Linked DNA regions of Homo sapiens: region 2 is linked to region 1. The links are contacts of gene promoters, found by promoter capture Hi-C in blood cells and fetal thymus (Javierre and others, 2016). All regions are on one chromosome and are shown on one strand. The core of a region is centred on a gene start or on the middle of the fragment in contact, and the rest is flanking DNA. Distances in the headings are between cores, read along the strand shown. Region 1 holds the start of EXOC4 (exocyst complex component 4). Region 2 has its middle 5.7 kb from the start of SLC35B4.

What was found. Contacts are between HindIII fragments. The CHiCAGO score rates a contact against its expected background, and 5 or more counts as called.
Region 2: a fragment that was not itself captured here is called in contact with the fragment with the promoter of EXOC4 in region 1 in 1 of 17 cell types (naive B cells); the score reaches 7.4 in naive B cells.

Annotation. Positions count from the first base shown.
Region 1 is chr7:133,251,645-133,254,344 of GRCh38, forward strand. It overlaps EXOC4 (exocyst complex component 4), which reads left to right and starts at 1,434. Exons shown (of 18, transcript NM_021807.4): 1 at 1,434-1,543. The coding sequence starts at 1,458. RefSeq lists enhancers at 1,201-1,250, 1,461-1,520. The HindIII fragment of the contact is 3,927 bases long and covers 1-2,700 here.
Region 2 is chr7:134,321,297-134,323,996 of GRCh38, forward strand. No RefSeq gene overlaps it. Among named protein-coding and RNA genes, the nearest start is that of SLC35B4, 5.7 kb to the left of the region's middle. The HindIII fragment of the contact is 935 bases long and covers 797-1,731 here.

The DNA.
Region 1 (2,700 bases), core at 184-2,683:
CACACACCACCACGGTCCGGCTAACTTTTGCATTTTTAGTAGAGACGGAGTTTCACCATGTTGGCCAGGCTTGTCTTAAACTCCTGGCCTCAAGTGGTCTGCTCGGCTCTGCCTCTCAAAAAGTGTTGGGATTACAGGTGTGAGCCATCACACTTGGCCCAAAAATCTTATTTTCTTTAAAAGCCATTAAAATTATGATTTCCAGAAGCTATATGTTATTTCCTCATTTGAATGTTACATAATTTATTTAATTCTTCTGTGTTATTTAAAAAATGTCAATACTCTATATTTCTTTAGGAACAAAGTCCCTAGAACTGGAATTATTGGGCCAAAGGTTATGAATACTTTTAAGTTATCGTGTGTGTGTGTGTGTGTGTGTTATCTTCAACTAATTTTTAAAAATGTGAACTTCTACCAGCTCGATGTCTATTTAATAAAAGTAATTGATGTGTTCTGAGCTTGCTGCTCACAACTCCATGACCTCTGAGTTAGTTTGCTTTCTATTCCTTTAAGTTCTTCAATCTTTATTGCTACTGAGCAGGCCACCTCCTTCCTTACTTTTAAATTATTATTATTCTTGTTCCTCAGTCTAACCACTTTCCACGCACATTCTGGTCTTTTTTGTTTTGTTTTGTTCATTTGGTCTTATGAATTAATGACTAAGCCAACGGAACCAAATGCAGGAAATACTAAAAACTTACCGGTAAAAGTATTAACACAAATGTGCATTACTACTAAGTATTTCATTTAGCTTGAAAAAAAAAAAAAAGGAATCTGCAGTGTGGTCTGTTTGTTTTTAGCTTATACTGTCTTTTCTTCATCAATATTCATTTATTCCTGTACGTGTGGTTTTAGAACTATCTGGAAATATAGGAACATTGGGAAAAATTGAACTCCACATAAACCTAATGTAGAAACATTAGTTTTACAGAATACTAAAGAAAAGCATTTCTGCTTATATTCATTTTCGTATTTTATTGGATTTTTTAAAAAATCACTTGCACTTAAGGCAAAAACTTCGCACATAGACATCCGGCAGAGAACCCCTCTTTCATTTAAATACAAACCCTAACACATTTTGGCATCATCAGATAAATTTGATTTAAAGCCTGACAAAATTCTAAAAGCAAGGAAACTGAAAAAAGCTGGAAGTCAGAATAAAGATAAATGAAGACACTCATTACAAGACTTAGGAAGTTGCAGCTGGTTTAGCTTTCCTGCGCGCCCAGGAGACGGAGAAGGAAAACTACGACTCCCAGAGTGCTTAGAGAGAACACGCGCGTCGTGGCCTCAAAACTTGCTCCCTTAGTCCCGCCTCCTCACTTCAGTGATTGGATTTTCCACTTCCGCGCCTCTGGAATTCTCTTCACCCATTGGTGGAGACTCCTGCGGGGTCAAATACAGAATTTACGCACCCTTGGCTTCCTTGGAGCCTAGCGGCTCTCCCCGCGTCCAAGATGGCGGCAGAAGCAGCTGGTGGGAAATACAGAAGCACAGTCAGCAAAAGCAAAGACCCCTCGGGGCTGCTCATCTCTGTGATCAGGTGAGGGAGGCAGGAGGCAGGGTCTGGGGACTGGGGGCAGCGGCTCGACCTCCGCTTTGGAAGGGAGAAGGGTTAGCTGGGTCCCACCCTGCTCTCCCCTTTCCTCCTTGCCTCCCGCAGCCCCTCCCCAGGGCTCTAACCCCTCCCCAGGGCCCCAGCAATTCCCCCTCCACCTTTTTTTTCTGGGGTTAGCTATAGAGAGAGGAGCCCCGCCTCAGTCTTTTCTTTAGGGGCAGCACCTTCTATTACAGTCTCGGGACCCCAAAGCACGCTATTTGGGTTTGGTAGAGAAAACCAGGTGTAAAGGTGTGTTTATTGATTCCTAAAATGCTTGTTTATTGTTTGCCTGTAGCAGCACTCACTGAGAAAGGCGTCTTGTTTCCTGGACTTTGGGGTGTAAGGCCTTGGAGTCCGGAGATTCCTGTCACGAGTTGCAGATTTGTGTTTTCACACTCTGGATACTTTCAACCACCTGTGCGTGGCCACAGCCACAAATACAAGAATCTGCAGTGAGCTGGTAGGAGGACTGGGTTTGAAGGCACACATCGGTTTTCAATTTTTTGCCCTGCCTCCGCATTCTGGTCCATTCCTTAAAAAACAGAACCAAACCAATTTCAAATTATCCTCCATGCACTGCCCCTCTGCACCTCCCAGAAGATTAGGGTGGGGGTGGAGTGGGAGCGGTGGATCTTTTAGGAGCTTTTTTTTAAAAAAGCGAAATATATTGAGGATGGGGGAACCCTTTCAAGAATCTTGGATATGATGCAGGTACTGACTAAAACCAATCTAAATAAAATTTATTATGGCACGTTTTTTACGTTGTTGGCATTTGAATTTCAACTCGTTTATTTTTCATAAACAAACACTCTATTTTTCCCCACCTATACTAAACTTTTGTTTGAGTTCTTGCAAGTTTTCTGGAATGTATTGATCATCTTTTCAAAACCCAGGGCCCAACATTATCTGGTAGGTACTAAGCACTTCAATGAATGCATGTATCAAACCATTAGAACAGCTTACCACTCACTGACAAAGACACATCTTATGGGTCTTATTTAGGAGGCTTTAAGATTATGGCCTATTAAATCATTACTTTAATTTTCTTTTGGGCTTAAGAGAAAAACATCTCTGTGTGGAAATGCTTAATATACTTGGTA
Region 2 (2,700 bases), core at 14-2,513, 1.1 Mb after region 1:
ATTCATGGCTCCCTTCTCTATACCTCCAGCACTCCTCCATACCCCCACTAATCCATTAATCATGTTGCACTGTAGTTATCTGTTTTCATGTTGGTCTCCCCCTCTAGACTAAGCCTTTGATGAACAGAATCCACAAATAACTAATTTATCTCTAGATCCTCAGCATCTTACATGGTGACTGGTACATAATATGTGCATATACCTTCTATTCAATGACTGAATGAATCAGCTTGAAGTAGTCAAATAATTCACACCTCATGAATACATGATATTTTTCAGCTTGACTAATTTTAACAATGTAAACATCAAAAATGTACTGCTCAGTGAATTTGCATGAACAGTGGTGTATAACCAATACTCAGGTTAGGAAATAAATGAGTACCAGCATTCCAGCAGCTCCTGTGCCCCATTCCAATCACTAACCCCCTCCAAGGGCAAGCACTATTCTGACTTTCTAGCACCAAAGATAAGTTTGGTCTGCTTTTGCACTTTACATAAATGGAATCATGCAGTATATTTCTTTTGTTTCTTCTTTTTTTTTTCTCAACATTATGTTGTCAGTTCAGCTACATTTCTTTGTGTATTTGTAGCTCATTTATTCTTACTGCTGCATAACATTTCCTTGTATGAATATACGACAACTTATTTGTTCTCTGGTGATGGACAATTTGGCTATTATTAATAGTGCTACTGTGAAATATCTTGTACATATCTTTTGTACATTTCTATTGGATATCAGCGTATCAATTAAGGTCCAGTCAGGAGGCAAAAATTGTATAGTAATTTGAACAAAGAAAGCTTAATATAAAGAATTATTAACTAGTAGTATTAACTAGAAGATAAACTACTATAAAGGATTAAAAGAACTCCCCAAATTATGGGAATAGCAGATACAAGGAGTAGCCACTACATAAGACTGAGTCAGACTACCCAAGAAAAGAACATATTTGGAAAAGGGCCCTCTCCCCTCCTCCCCAAATGGAGATTCAGACCTCATTGAAGGGGGTAGTGCTGCAGTCCTCTGGCTAGCAGAGAAGTTCAGTGAGGTGCTGATGAAACTCACCTAGGGTCATCCTCTGGGGTCCAGGTAGGGCACTGGTCAGCTCATTGAGAAGCTGCTGGTGGAAGTTTTGTACTTGCTAGGAAGCTGGGTGGAGCTCTGGCAGAATTTTCTGGATACCAGCTGTGAGGATACTAGTTAGTCCACCAGGGTGAATTCCCCAGGGTATCCTACATGCTGGCTGAGCACTGCATGAGCAACATGGAAGAAAGCACACCAGAACCAGAACTCCTCCCTCAGTGTCCCTGCAGCCCCCTCTGTGACAAAGCTCCACACTGTGCTCCCCATCAGAGGAGAAACGTCCACAGGGTCAAGCTCCAGCATCCCAAACAAGGCCATGAAGGGTGGATTTGGAGTGGAGAGGCCATAAATTGACAACTAGAACATCCAAGAGTTTTTTTGGGGGTCATGCCGACTTCAACATTTTGTTTTATCATAAAACCAAAGTTATGAAGTATAGCTATGATTTCATCTCACAGATCTTTTTTTCTTCTTTTATTACCCTGAGTTCAGAATTCTAACATTTTTGAATGAATAGCAACTTCTTAGACACCAGCTGTGCTCAACATGTTTAAACCTCTTCACAGTCCTCTTACCTTATAAAGAAGGATCTATCACTTTGGGAATGTTCATTGTCTTTGACCTAGTGTTGTCAGTGGGAAAAGCTGTCAAGCTTGTTCTAAAAGCCATTTTTGTTTCTAGTTCTAGACACTCAGACACATTTTGAATCATTTGTAAAATTCACTTAAACAACTTGTTGACAAAAAATTAAATAATATACCTCTGATGGAATACTGCCTGATAAGTCTCAAATTGCCAATCCTACAGAGATCTGTCATTTGATTTTTTAAAACATCTTTTCTATATCTATCATATGATGATTATTTTCTCATCTTTGCATTATGTAAATCTTGAGATATTTAGAGCTGTGCACTATAAATATACTTCAGATATTATTCATAGAGTCAAAATATTCTTGTTGTTTGTTTCATAGGTCAGATTCAAGCAATGCCCTGGTATATTAATAGACTTATGAATGCTAATATTTTCAAGGGCATTATTTGAAGACATATTTTTTCAGATTACTATAATTTGGGAGTATGACATTTTGGCTAGGAAGAAAACCTTCTTGATCAGAATATTAGTGGCCCAAGGACAAGGGCTTTGTCTTATTAGCCACAGTATCCTCCATATCTGGATGACATCTGGCTTATAGTAGGTGCTCAGTAAGTAACAGCTGGAGGGAAGGAGTGAAGGAAGGAGAGAAAGAAAGAAATAGAAAAAGAAAGAAAGAAGGAGAGAGAGAAAGAAAGAAGAAAGAGAAAGAAAGAAAGAAAAAGCAGGGAAGGAAGGAAGAGGACCTTTCAAAAAACCAGCTACTCTTTAAGGGACTCATAAACAAAACAGGTGAGCGTTTGAAAATGGTACCTGCTATGAGAGAAAGTAAGTACGAATAATTACCTGAAGAAAATTTACAAAGAACTCAAACAACTCAACAAGAAAAAAACCATTATAAAATTGGACAAAAGACATAAACAGACATTTTTCAAAAAATGACATGCAAGCAGCCAATAACCATGTGAAAAAAAATGCTCAATATCACTAATCACATAATTACACCAGTCAGAATGACTATTAAA